2 separate regions of the Homo sapiens genome follow, and region 1 is linked to region 2. The links are contacts of gene promoters, found by promoter capture Hi-C in human tissues and cell types (Jung and others, 2019). All regions are on one chromosome and are shown on one strand. The core of a region is centred on a gene start or on the middle of the fragment in contact, and the rest is flanking DNA. Distances in the headings are between cores, read along the strand shown.

Evidence for each region. Contacts are between HindIII fragments. The study calls those that stand out against the background at their distance.
Region 1: a contact is called between the fragment with the promoter of FANCA here and a fragment that was not itself captured in region 2, in 1 of the 25 tissues and cell types used here (hippocampus).

Annotation. Positions count from the first base shown.
Region 1 is chr16:89,814,847-89,822,022 of GRCh38, reverse strand. FANCA (FA complementation group A) reads left to right here and starts at 5,376. Exons shown (of 43, transcript NM_000135.4): 1 at 5,376-5,486; 2 at 6,037-6,146. The coding sequence starts at 5,408. RefSeq lists enhancers at 4,713-4,762, 5,148-5,442 and silencers at 5,303-5,592, 5,823-5,872. The HindIII fragment of the contact is 15,845 bases long and covers 1-7,176 here.
Region 2 is chr16:89,472,117-89,479,035 of GRCh38, reverse strand. The region is part of intron 1 of ANKRD11 (ankyrin repeat domain containing 11); the gene reads left to right. Among named protein-coding and RNA genes, the nearest start is that of ANKRD11, 15 kb to the left of the region's middle. The HindIII fragment of the contact is 6,489 bases long and covers 759-6,919 here.

The DNA.
Region 1 (7,176 bases), core at 4,127-6,626, 340 kb before region 2:
GTTGGGAGTCTGAGACCAGCCTGACCAACATGGAGAAACCCTGTCTCTACTAAAAATACAAAATTAGTCAGGCATGGTGGCGCAGGGCTATAATCCCAGCTGCTCGGGAAGCTGAGACAGGAGAATCTCTTGAACCCGGGAGGTGGAGGTTGCGGTGAGCCATGATCTCGCCATTGCACTCCAGGCTGGGTGACAAGAGCGAAACTCTGTGCCTCAAAAAAAAAAAAAACAAGAATGGGACATGCTGAGATGTGTCACTTAGACACTAGTTCCTGTGTGAACATGGGGTTGACAAGCTCCTCCCCACGTGACAGCAAACATCGTCTCAGATGGTGAAAGCACCTCCAGTGCCCGCCCAGGGGCCTGAACGTTGTAAGATGAGAGAACTAGGCTGGACGTGGCGCCTCACACCTGTCGTCCCAGCACTTTGGGAGGCTGAGGTAGGAGGACCAAGAGCCTGGGAGGCGGAGGCGGAGGTTGTAGTGAGACGAGATTGCGCCACTCTAGCCTTAGTGGCAGAGTGAGACCCTGTCTCAAAAAAAAAAAAGGCCAGGCGCGGTGGCGCACGCCTGTAATCCCAGCACTTTGGGAGGCCGAGGCGGGCGGATCACCTGAGGTCAGGAGTTTGAGACCAGCCTGGCCAACATGGCAAAACCCTGTCTCTACTAAAAATACAAAAATTAGACAGGCGTGGTGGCAGGCACCTGTAATCCCAGCTACTCGGGAGGCTGAGGCGGGAGAATCGCTTGAACCTGGAAGGCAGTGGTTGCAGTGAGCCAAGATCATGCCACTGCAGTCCAGCCTGGGCAACAGAGTGAGACTCCATCTTAAAAAAAAAAAAAAAAAAGAATGCAGAAGTTCCTCACAACTCATGGGCATAATTCTCCCCACACTGCTCAGTGACAAGGCAGAGGCAGAACAGGCCATTATAAAAGATGTGCCAGATCAAAGGACAGATGAACTTTTCTTTTCTTTTCTTTTCTTTTCGAGAGGGAGTTTTGCTCTTGTCGCCCAGGCTGGAGTGCAGTGTCATGATCTCAGTTCACTGCAAGGTTTGCCTCCCAGGCTGAAGCGATTCTCCTGTCTCAGCCTCCCCAGAAGCTGGGATTACAGGTGCCCACCACCACAGCCGGCTCATTTTTTGTATTTTTAGTAGAGACCAGGTTTCTCCATGTTGGGGACGCTGGTCTCAAACTCCTGACTTCAGGTAATCTGCCCACCTCGGCCTCCCAAAGTGCTGGGATTACAGGCGCGCGCCACCATACGCTTTTTTTTTTTTTTTTGAGACAGAGTCTCAATCTGTCGCCCAGGCTGTAGTTGGCATGATCTCGGCTCACTGCAACCTACATCTCCTGGGTTCAAGTGATTCTCCAGCCTCAGCCTCCCAAGTAGCTGCGATTACAGGCACTGGTCACCACGCCCGGCTAATTTTGTATTTTTAGTAGAGATGTGGTTTCACCATGTTGGCCAGGCCAAATTCGAACTCCTGACCTCAGGTGATCTACCCACCTCAGCCTCCCAAAGCGCTGGGATTACAGTCATGAGCCACCCCACTTGTCCTAGACAGAAAATTATCTTTTTTTTGAGACGGAGTGTCGCTCTGTCACCCAGGCTGGAGTGCAGTGGCACGATCTCAGCTCACTGCAAGCTCCGCCTCCTGGGTTCAAGCAAATCTCCCGCCTCAGCCTCCTGAGTAGCTGGAATTACATGCACCTGCCACCACACCCGGCTAATTTTTGTAGTTTTGGTAGAGATGGGGTTTCACCATGTTGTCCAAGCTGGTCTCGAACTCCTGCTCTCAGGTGACCCGCCTGCCTCAGCCTCCCAAAGTGCTGGGATTACAGGCGTGAGCCACTGCGCCGGGCCAAGACAAGAGTTTTGCTCTAGTTGCCCAGGCTGGAGTGCAGTGGCGCAATCTTGGTTTACTGCAACCTTCGCCTCCTGGGTTCAGGCGATTCTCCTGCCTCAGCCTCCCGAGTAGCTGGGATTACAGGCATGCACCACCACACCTGGCTGATTTTGTATTTTTAGTAGAGACGGGGTTTCTCCATGTTCGTCAGGCTGGTCTTGAACTCCTGACCTCAGGTGATCTGCCTGCCTTGGCCTCCCAAAGTGCTGGGATTACAGGCATGAGCCACCACACCTGGCCAATTTTTGTGTTTTTAGTAGAGATGAGATTTCACCATGTTGGCCAGGCTAGTCTCAAACTCCTGACCTCAGGTGATCCACCGGCCTCGGCCCCCCAAAATGCTGGGATTACAAGTGTGAGACACCGTGCCCAGCACCCCTGCCTTTTTTTTTTTTTTGAGACAGGGTGTCACTCTGTCATCCAGGCTGGAGTGCAGTGGCGTGATGGTGGCTCCCTGCAGCCTCAGCCTCCTGGGCTCAAGTGATCCTCTCACCTCAGCCTCCCAAGTAGCTGGGACTATGTAGGGTCCAGCCCTATGGGGCTTAGTGGGTGTTCTCCCCATGTACGGAGAAGAGAGATTGTAATAAATAAAGACACAAGACCAAGAAATAAAGAGAAAACAGCTGGGCCCCGGGGACCACTACCATCAAGACGCGGAGACTGGTAGCGGCCCCGAACGGCTAGGCTCTTTGATATCTATTGCATACATGACAAGGGGGCAGCGTAAGGAAGGTGAATCTTCTAAGTGATTGACAAGGTGAAGCATGTCACGTGATTACAGGATGGGGGCCCTTCCCTTTCAGGTAGGTGAAGCAGAGAAAGAAGGCAGCATACGTCAGCATTTTCTTCTCTGCACTTATAAGAAAGATCAAAGACTTTAAGACTTTCACTATTTCTTCTACCGCTATCTACTACGAACTTCAAAGACGAACCAGAAGTAAGGGAGGAACATGAAAGTGGACAAGGAGCGTGACCAGTGAAGCACCACAGGGAGGGGTTTAGGCCTCCGGATGACTGCGTGCAGGCCTGGATAACATCCAGCCTCCCACAAGAAGCTGGTGGAGCAGAGTGTTCCCTGACTCCTCCAAGCAAAGGAGACTCCCTTTCATGGTCTGCTAAGTAACGGGTGCCTTCCCAGACACTGGCGTTACCGCTTGACCAAGGAGCCCTCAAGCGGCCCTTATGCGGGCATGACAGAAGGTTCACCTCTTGCCTTCCACTCACTTCTCACAATGTCCTTTCAGCACCTGACCCTATACCCACCGGTTATTCCTAGGTTATATTAGTAATGCAACAAACAGTAATATTAAAAGCTAATGATTAATGTTTATAATAATTGATAATTGTCCATGATCATCTCCATAATTTGTATTATGACTGTTCTTATTGTAACGATTTTATTATACTGAAATAGTTTGTGCCTTCGGTCTCTTGCCTCGGCACCTGGGTAATTCTCCGCCCACAGGACTACAGGCTCGTGTCACCACACTGGGCAATACAAAAAATACAAAAAAAAAATTTTGTATTTTTTGTAGAGACGAGGTCTTGCCATATTGCCCAGGCTGGAATTCTTACCTTTGTTACTGTATTTAACGTATCTTTTTCCTCCGGCCATCTTCATGGTTTTCTCTCTGATTTCCACAGTTTGAATACACTGCATGTGTCAGGCAGGGGCTCATATTTATCAAGTTTTGTGTGTGCTCTGAGCTCAGGTCTTTCATTATTTTGGGAAAATTATTGGTAATTTTCTCTTCAAACATTTTTTATGATTTGTTCTTTCTTCTTCTTTTGGGAGTCCTATTACATGCATATGATATCATTTGATATTTTCCCACAGTTCTTGGATGCTTTTTTTAAAAAAAAACTTTTTTTCTTCTTTATTTTCCAACGTGGGTAATTCCTATTTTTCTCAGCTGTGTTGATCCTACTGCTGCCCCATCAGAAAAATTACCTGTTATCAGCGTTCTTCCTTTCTTATAATTTGATGAGTTTCCTCCTCATGCATATTGTTCACCTTTCGTACAAGAGACCTCCACATATTAATCACAGTTAATTTAAATTTCCAGCCTGTTTCAATTTCTCGATCACCTCTGAGTCTAGTCCTGTTAATTGCTTAGTGTTATTTTTTGTTTTTGAAACAGGGTCTTGCTCTGTTGCCCAGGCTGGAGTGCAGCGGCGCGATCTCAGGCTGTTCCCTGAGTTCACACCATCCCCCTCAACCAGCAGATTGCAAAGTGTCCGAGTCGGGCCGTGCAGGAGTCTTTGTGGGGGTTTCATGGACTCCGAATTCTCATTTCTGCTCCATCCCCATCTCATGAATCCAAGGCCCCACTCTGTGCCTCGGCTCTTCGTTTGTGGTGCTGAACGTCATCTACGTCATCTACGCCATCTACGTAATCAACACAATAAAGACGCCTGCCGGGAACGCGGCCCTTCGGCTGAATCCCTTCGGTGGTTCCAAGGCCACTGCCAGAGGATGCGGACGGGTCTCCAGGGCCTCTACTTACCCAGGACTTTGAGGCACATTAGCTTCGCCTAGGCACTCGCTTTTACGAATTCTTATGTTTGGTTTTGTTTTGAGACAGAGTCTCGCTCTGCCGCCCAGGCTGGTTAAAAGATAGGGTCTCAGCCGGGTGCGGTGGCTCACGCCTGTAATCCCAGCACTTTGGGAGGCCGAGGCGGGCGGATCACCTGAGGTCCGGAGTTCGAGACTAGCCTGGGCCAACATGGCGAAACGCTGTCTCTACTAAAAATAACAAAAATCATCCAGGCGTGGTGGCGCGCACCTGCAATCCCAGCTACTCGGGAGGCTGAGGCAGGAGAATCACCTGAACCCAGGAGGCAGACGTTGCAGTGAGCCGAGATCGCGCCACTGCACTCCAGCCTGGGCGACAGAGGGAGACTCCGTCTCAAAAAAAGGAAAAAAAAAAAAAAGAAAAGAAACAAAAGTGATGGGGTCTCGCTCTGTTGCCCAGGCTAGTCTGGAATTCCTGGGCTCAAGCGACCCTCCAGCCTCGGCCTCCCAAAGCGCTGGGAATACAGGCGCGGCTACCGCGCGGTCTCCGGCTGCCGAAACACCGCCCTGCGCGCGGACCGTTCGGCCGCCGGGAGGAACAGCGGCTGCCCGGAGCTCAGAGGCGCGCGCGGCTTTGCGCTCCCCGCGGCGCTCTGAGCCTGCCTCGGCTTGGTTGGCCAGGTGGTCTCTTCAGGACCAACCCCAGTCATTCCCGGCAGGAACCACGCTTGAGGGGCGGCAGTCTGCCCGCGCGAGACGCCCCCGCGGACTACACCGCGGCGGCAAAGCCAAACGCAAAAACTACCTCACCGCGCGCAGGCGCCTCCCCCAGGACCAACATGGCCACGACGCAAGGCCTCGACCTGAGGGGCGTGGCCTGGCCGCCGCCAGCCAACGGGTGTGCGCGCCTGGCCGCAGCCAATAGGAAGGCAGCGCGGGCTCGGGCGCAGGGAGCCGCCGCCGGGGCTGTAGGCGCCAAGGCCATGTCCGACTCGTGGGTCCCGAACTCCGCCTCGGGCCAGGACCCAGGGGGCCGCCGGAGGGCCTGGGCCGAGCTGCTGGGTAGGTGGGCGCGGCAGGCCGCGGGAGTGGGCGGCGTCCGGCCCGGGACGGTTTCGCCGGTTCCCCGATCCCTTCCCGCCAGAGCCTCCGCCGGTCGGATCCCCGGACGCCGCGCCCGGGGGGCTGTGCGGGGTGGGCGCCCGGCTGGGGCGGCGCGGCTGCCTCGGACCCGGCCCCTCCTGCGCCTGGGCGGACGCCCCCAGCCGCCGCCCGCGGGGCGCTCCCTTCTTTCCCGAACGCCGCCCCCGCCGGCCGCCCTGTCAGGCGGGCCTGGGGTGCGCGGCCTGGGGCTCCCCTCAGCGCAGAGGCCGCCCCTCGCCAGCCGTCCCCGGGCTCCCCTGCCTCGGGCCCTCCTGGGCCGTCTTCCCCGGCGTCCGCGGTGGGGCCGTCTCCGTTAGTTTCCCGAGACCTGCGCCCTGGGGAGGAGCCCCGGCCCCTCTTCGGGAGGGTGTCGCTGGTGGGTTTCTCCGCGGCGTCCACCTGCGCGTCGGGCCGGGGACCCCGTGTGTGAATTGTGCTGTGATGGTTTCGAACCGACTTCTCTCCGTAGCGGGAAGGGTCAAGAGGGAAAAATATAATCCTGAAAGGGCACAGAAATTAAAGGAATCAGCTGTGCGCCTCCTGCGAAGCCATCAGGACCTGAATGCCCTTTTGCTTGAGGTAAGAGGAAGCTGGTGTCCGTCTGCGGGCAGATTTAGGTTCGGGGTTTTTGAGTCCAGCCACCGCACAGCTTTCCTAAGAAAACACCCGAGGCGGCGGGCGCGGTGGCCTGGCCCGCAGAGGGGAGGGTCGCCTGAGCCCGGGAGTTCTGGACCAACCTGGGCAACGGGGTGAGACCCCGCCTCTTTTATTAAAAACAAAACAACAACAACAAAAAAACAGGCCGGGCGCCGTGGCTCAGGGCTGTAATCCCAGCTTTTGGGGAGGCCAAGGCGGGTGGATCACTCAGGGTCAGGAGTTCGAGACCAGCCTGGCCAACATAGTGAAACCCGGTCTCTACTGAAAATACAAAAATTAGCTGGGTGTGGTGGCGCACGCCTTTAATCCCAGCTACTCGGGAGCCTGAGGCAGGAGAATTGCTTGAACCTGGACCCGGGAGGCAGAAATTGCAGTGAGCCGAGATCACGCCCCTTGCAATCCAGTCTGGATTACAGAGTGAGACTGTCTCACAAAAAAAAAAAAAAAAAAAAAAAAAAAAAAAGCCGGGCGTGGTGGCTCACGCCTGTAATCCTAGCCCTTTGGGAGGCCGAAGTGGGTAGATCACTTGAGGTTAGGAGTTCGAGACCAGCCTGACCAACATGGTGAAACCCCGTCACTACTTAAAATACAAAAATTAGCCGGGTATGGTAGCAGGTGTCTGTAATCCCAGCTGCTCAGGAGGCTGAGGCAGGAGAATCGCTTGAACCTGGGAGGTGGAGGTCGCCGTGAGTGAGATCCCGCCATTGCACTCCAGCCTGGACGACAGTGAGACTCCCTCTCAAAAAAGAAAAAAAGGAAAATAGCCCAGTAGGGAAGCATTACTTACACACAGGTTGTGTTTATGCACAGATCTTGAATTTTTTTTATTTTTATTTTTTATTTTCATTTATTTTTTTTGAGACAAAGTCTCACACTGTAGCCTGGGCTGGTATGCAGTGGGGTGATCTCGGCTCACTGCAGCCTCCACCTCCCGGGTTTAAGTGATTCTCCC
Region 2 (6,919 bases), core at 2,754-5,253:
GAGGTTGCAGTGAGCTGAGATCATGCCACTGGTCTCTAGCCCCGGTGACAGAGTGAGAACATCTCAAAAAAGAAAAGAAAAAGTGTTGGGTCATTATTTACACACCCAACAAGTGAAAGGTCTGGAGGGCCCAAGTGAGGACAGCTCAGTTCAGGCATGTTTAACCTCCAGATTACCTCATCCTTGAGAAATTTAGGAATAATCCCAGTGTCAGTCTTTGGAGGTGTGGTTCTTTGATGTTAGTCATGGGAATAAGGAATTTGCATTAAGCCTCAAGAATTGTGGAAAGTCCTAATGAGAAATGTCACGGGCAGAAACTGCCACCCGCTTTAGTGGTGCAGGTGATGGCTGTGCCGGAGAGCTGCGCGTAGCCGGCTGCTGGAGGAGAGGACGTGGCCTGTACAGGCAGCTTCGCTCTGGGGGGTGACTGTTGGAGGGCAGCGGGGACGAAAGGGACACATTTGTATGATGCTCAGTTGTCAGCAGGATGTCCAGGTTGCTTTTTTGGAGGGCAGTGGGTCCTTGAGACCTTGAGACCCATTCTCTTTGGAAAGTAATGAGTTACCGGGTGGGGGCTGTAGGAGGATGTTCAGTTGTGGTGTGGAGGCGTCGGGTTGCTTAACCTCAGAGGGATCTTTTTTCCTATGAGTTGTGTAGAAGAGGATGTCTTCCATAGATTTGAAGGACGTTAAAAAAAAAACCAACCCCAATGTGGCTTTCCTTCTTTCTCACTAGGGTGATAGTCCGACGTGCATGTCTGTTTCCTGGACCCTGGATGTGAAAATGGGGTTCTTGAAGGCACTGGGAGTGTTTCTCTGCTGGCCCCAGAGGCCTGTGTGTGCTGCTGGCGAGGCAGCTGGGCCACTGTCACTGTGCCCTGACAACAACGTTGGGAACTGTTCCTGAAAGTGTTAAACAAAATTTCAGTTTATTAAGCGCTCCTCTCATTAAGCCATTGTTTTATTTTTCTTTTTTGATTTTTTGGGCTTCTTTTGAAGCCATAATAAATTGGAATAGAAAGAATACATACCAAGAAACAAATATTAGGTCTGATTTTTTAATTTTTTGTTATTATTTTTGAGATGGAGTCTTGCTCTGTCCCCAGACTGGAGTGCAGTGGCGTGATCTTGGCTCACTGAAACCTTCGCCTCCTGCGTTCAAGCAGTTCTCCTGCATTCAAGCAGTTCTCCTGCCTGCCACCACACCTGGCTGATTTTTGAATTTTTAGTAGAGTTGGGGTTTCACCATGTTGGCCAGGCTGGTCTTGAACTCCTGACCTCAGGTGATGTACCTGCTCAGCCTCCCAAAGTGCTGGGATTACAGGCATGAGCCACCGCGCCCGGCCTCTCCAATATTTTTATTATTAAAATGCTAAATACTGCCGGGCCCAGTGGCTCACACCTGTAATCCCAGCACTTTGGGAGGCTGAAGCGGGTGGATCACCTGAGGTCAGGAGTTCGCGACCAGCCTGGGCCACATGGTGAAACCCTGTCTCTTCTAAAAATACAAAAAATTAGCTGGGCGTGGTGGCAGGCGCCTGTAATCTCAGCTACTCGGGAGGGTGAGGCAGGAGAATCGGTTGAACCCAGGAGGTGGAGGTTGCAGTGAGCCAGAATCGCACCACTGCACTCCAGCCTGGGTGACAGAGTGAGACGCCATCTCAGAGAGAAAAAAAAGAAATTACGCGTGGTGGCCCATGCCTGTCATCCCAGCTACTGAGGAGGCTGAGGCAGGAGAATCGCTTGAACATGGGAGGTGGAGGTTGCAGTGAGCCGAGATGGCGCCACTGCACTCCAGCTTGGGCACCAGAGTGAGACTCTGTCTCCAAAAAAAAAAAAAAAGGGGAAATGACTTAAAGGTGATGGCTTTTATACTTCTATTGTGCCTGTTTTCTGAGATATAAATTTAACTAGCTAATTCTCTCGTGTTTTAAATAGTAGACAAAGAAAGACAAGACCAAAGGAGAACCTTTTTCTCTGTTTCTTACTCCGTCTGCTTTTATTAATAGATGCTCACGGTGTGGTCTTCCACTCACTTCCCCTTTCATCTCTGAGCTTAACGAGCTCCTCGTATTATAGATTGTTACCATATCATGTGTTCCAGTCTGTGCCCGTGTATAAACGTGTGTTGTGTGTTACGCGATACTGTGAGATGAGTCTGCCCAGAGGGACTCTGAAGTCAGGACTGTGTCTTTTCCACACCTCTCCACCCCAGCTCTCATCATGCCTCTGAGAGAACCAGATTCAGAGTGTGGTGAGGGGAGGATGAAGTGGTTTGGGGTGGGCCTTGGGCCCCCATCTCTTTGCTGGAAGTGTAGTATACCTCTAGGATATGTGTCCAAACTGTTGGCTGTGAGACCAAGGAGGAGAAGTCTTTTTTGGCAGGCTAGTGCCTGCGGCTTGAGGTCTCAGTGTCTGTAACTGCCAGGCTGCAGAGCCCCACCTGGCTGAGTCAGGAGTGTGTTGTAACCTGCCCACCTGCCCAGGCTGGTTAGAAGCAAGCGTAGGCGTTGGGTCTGCCTGTCCTGGTCCAGGCACCTCTCCTGGTTTGGCCAGGTTTTGGTTTGTATTTATTCCTGATGTTGATGTGTAAATGATATCGTTACAAAGCAGGTAGTTTGCTTTGCTATTCTACGAATAACCCAAGAACCTGAGGATAATAGGACACGTTAACAGTCTGCTAGTTGAGAGTTCTGTTTCTGTGACTTCAGGGGACATATGACCATCCCGATTGTGGTGGGTTATTAAGGCTGTGACAAGTCACAGGTGGCTTTAGGGATGTCAAAGATAGGCAAAGATAGGTTCATTTGAATTTGATTTCATCTTTTGAGAATGGGTTGGTATACCTGAAATTGGCTTTGTAGTTTTGGTATTTTGATGTGAGAAGGCATTGGCTGAATTTTTTTTGTTCTCATAATTTGCATATTTTCTGTGTTTTCTCCATTGTTTGGCTCAGTTGTTTTCTTTTTCTTTTTTTTTTTTTTTGAGACACAGTCTCGCTCTATCACTCAGGCTGGAGTGCAGTGGCGTGATCTTGGCTCCCTGCAACCTCCACCTCCCGGTTTCAAGCACTTCATCTGCCTCAGCCTCCCAAGTAGCTGGGACTACAGGTGCCCACCACCACGCCTGGTTAATTTTTAAATTTTTTTAGTAGAGACAGGGTTTCACCATGTTGGCCAGGCTGGTCTTGAACTCCTCACCTCAATTGATCCACCCACCTTGGCTTCCCAAAATGCTGGGATTCCAGGTGTGAGCCCCCGCACCTGGCCGGGGTCAGTTGTTTTCGTGTTCCTTATCCCTCTTTAAACTTGGGAGAGCATTTTGTGTTTCGTGGAGATATCACAGCATAGAACAGAATTTTGATTGTAATTGTTTGTTGTTGACTTGCTGTAGTACTGTTTTCAGACTTCCAGTGTGAACGATAAAAGATTATCTTAAAATTTTAGGAAAAATTATCTTTTGTGTGGGTAGTGAATAAATAATTAGCATTAATGTTACCGATGTCTTCTACCTAGTTCTTTATCAAAATTCTTTTCCTGACTGCAATATTTCATTTTAATAGAGAATAATTTTCATGTGAAACTGCTTGCTTTATATTTTCTTTCTGGTTGCTATAGAAACAGTGCAGCGTGGTGGGTTACGGGGCTTTCATGAGGGAGCTCTCTGGGAGGCAGCAGTCACCTGGTGATGAGGGAGGGGAATGGAATTGTCTTCTTTCACATCCCAGCTTGGCCACGGAGCCTCAGGAGCTGCATCATCAGAATGATTGGATTTTCTTGTCCCTCCAGCTTAAATGCTGTGGGCTTTGTTCTCCAGTGGAGTGGTCATTGCCTTTTTTCCTACCTGTGAGTTAGTCCATCTCTCCAACCCACTGACGACCCAAGAGCTCCCCAGCCTTTCTCTGCCCGTCACAGTCAAGAGGGTCTGTTGGAAAATTACTGACTGAACAACAGATGCCAGAGATTGCCCTGAATTGTGGAAGTCCCGGCTGCCACCCCCTTACTTGAGGTCCTCATCTCACTGCACCAGCAGGGGTGAGGAGAGGGCAGGGGTGGCCCTGCACAAAGCTGGGGAAGAAAGGAGGCAGCTCCCGGCCAGGCAGGGCCCAGCTTTCCTTCTAGATCATCAGCACAAATTTGCGTTTGAAGATTTAACTTACATTTTATTTTTTTATTTGGATGATACATGTGTAAGTTTTGGGATGTTATGCAGTGTTCTGAGGATTGACGTTGGTGGCATATGTAACCTTGAAGGCAGCATTTTGTTAATTATAAAAAACTTGGAATATAGTGATTGAGTATGAAATAATTGAAGCTGTGAGTTCAGTTATGAAGAACTTGGTCTCGGAGTCTCTCTGAGCTTGGGAGGCTGCCTTGGTCTCAGTGGGGTTGGCATCATGTGTGTTGGTGGTAGGTTGGAAAGAGCATTTGGAGTTCTGAAGAGTGACCTGTGCTGCCTTTCTGGCAACCAGTCATTATTTGTGCATGGAAGGAAGTAGCATGGATGAAAGCTTTTCTTTCAAATGGGATGATGTGTGGGGGTATATTTCTGGTCTTAAATTTTTTTTTTTTTTTTTACATAAGGTAGAGACAGGGTCTCACCATGTTGCCCAGGCTGGTCTCAAGGTCCTGGGCTCAGTCATTCCTTCCACCTTGGCCTCCCATAGTGCTGGGATTACAGGCATGAGTCACCATGCCAGGCCAGTGTATTTATTTTCTACTGCTGTGTAACAAATTGACACACAACACATTTATTATCTCACAGTTTCTGTGGGTTGGAAGTCTGGGCACAGCTTAGTGGGATCCTCTGCTCAGGGTTTCATCCGGTTGCAATCTAGGTGTTGGGTGGGACTGTGATCTTATCAGAGGCTCGAGTGGGGGATGGTGTGCTTTTGAGCTCTTTCAGGTTGTGGCAGAAGTTATCTCTTGCTGATTGTGGGACGCAAGTCTTTGTTTTCTTGTTGACTGTCCCTTGAGGTCTCCTCTTGACTCTTAGAGGCCCCCTGTACTTGCTTGGCGCATGGCCCCTTGCAGCTTGGCAGCTCACTTCAAAACAGCAAAGAGTCTTCTGCTTCAGTAGACTAAGTCTTACGTAACATAATGTAGTCATGGGAGTGACAGCGCAGCAACTTTGCCACCTAATGCAACCCAGTCAAGGGAAAGCCATTCCATTGTTTTCACCACATTCTGTGGGTTAGAAGCACGTCACAGGTCCCACCCGCCTTGCACTCCGGGCAAGGTGGCTACAAGGAGGCATGGACACTGGGTGGGGAGATTGCCAGGCTCACCTAGGGTCTGTCTGCTGGCCTGGGGTGTTCTTCAGAACCCTCATTCCCTGGATACTGACATGTCAGTCTCTGGGAATTGGTTGCATCTCTCTCTCCTCCATGACGTATCAGTCTGTGGGAGAGCGGTGCGTCTCTTCTCTCTCCTCCATTTGCATGCATTCCCGGACCCACTTGTAGAACGGAAGTAGAATCAAGACTCGTGGCCACAGTTTGGGTGGATGGGACACTTGGGCTTGCCCTGGTACTATCAGGCTGTTTGCCCTATGCCTTGCATTTCCCACTGTCCTGCCTGCCTCTCAGGCTTATGGTGAGGATGAGGTGAGATGAGATGATGGATGTGGTCAGTGAAGCAGCTGGTCAGGGCCTGGTGGAATTCTACTCTAGTCCAGTCTGCCTCTTTCTCCACCTCTATTCTCTAGGCAGAGATTGGTTATTTTCAGTAGTAAGTATGGACTCATCAGAGTTCTTGAGGTCTTTGCTTCCTGCCTCAAATTCCCTTCTCTCCTTTCCCTGACTGATGCCTACTCATCCTTCAGGCCTCCATGTTCCCAATGATCCTTTTTTTTTTTTGAGGCAGGGTCTTGCTTTCTTGCCTCGGCTGGAGGGCAGTGGTGTGATCCTGACTTATTGCAGCCTTGACCTCCTGGGCTCAAGCCAAGCTGTCCTGGGTAGCTGGGACCACAGGTGTGTACCACCACACCTGGCTAATGTTTGTACTTTTTGTAGAGTCGGGGTCTCACTGTGTTGCCCAGGCTGGTCTCCCAACTTCTGGGCTCAAGTGATCCTCCTGCCTCAGCCTCCCACAGTGCTGGGATCACAGACATGAGCCACTATGTCTGGCCCCCAGTGAGCCTCTTGATCTCATGGTTGAGCTCTTTTTTCACTTGTGACTTCTGCCATTGGTTAGATTCTCACCTTTGGTCTTGCGGTGCTCTCTGCTCCCCTCTGTGGTAATAATTTATTGTTGTGTTGTAATTATCTTTTACTTCCTTTCCACTAAGTGATATTCATTGGATCCTCAAATAAAAGGCTTGGCACACTTAGGGCAGATACCTAATAAAACAGTAACACCTCTGTGGTCAGTATTTAAACGGTGTGCACAGCCATTAGAATGGAATAAGCTGGGCGCAGTGGAATGGGAGGTTGATGTTGCAGTGACACATGAATGTGCCACTGCCCTCCAGCCTGGGGGACAGAGCAAGAGCTCATCTCAAATAAATCAATAAATGGGTCAGAGGAGTGTGATGTGCTGGTGACTCGGGTCCTGCTCTGCCGCCGGAGCTTTTCCAGCCTTGCTGCTCCTTTGCTTTGGATCTTTTCATTCCTAGGTTTATTGTTGAGTCTGAGACGGTTTTTTTTCTCCCTTCCCCTTCCCCTTAGTAAATGTGCAGATCTCCTGATATTGCACCTGACTTAGAGATCTTGGTACCGTCCCTACAGATCCACACAAACACAAAAGCACAGGTGATACTCAGGTTGGAACATGAAGATGCAAAGTCAGCATCCCCATTTGCCTCTCACTTTTCTGTCTTCCTTAGCTGTGTCCTGCGAGTGTTTATTGGGCAGTGTTGACAGCAGCTTCAGTCTCAGAAAAAGGATGGGAAGTTGCTCTCAGACTCGGAACCCTAAAGCT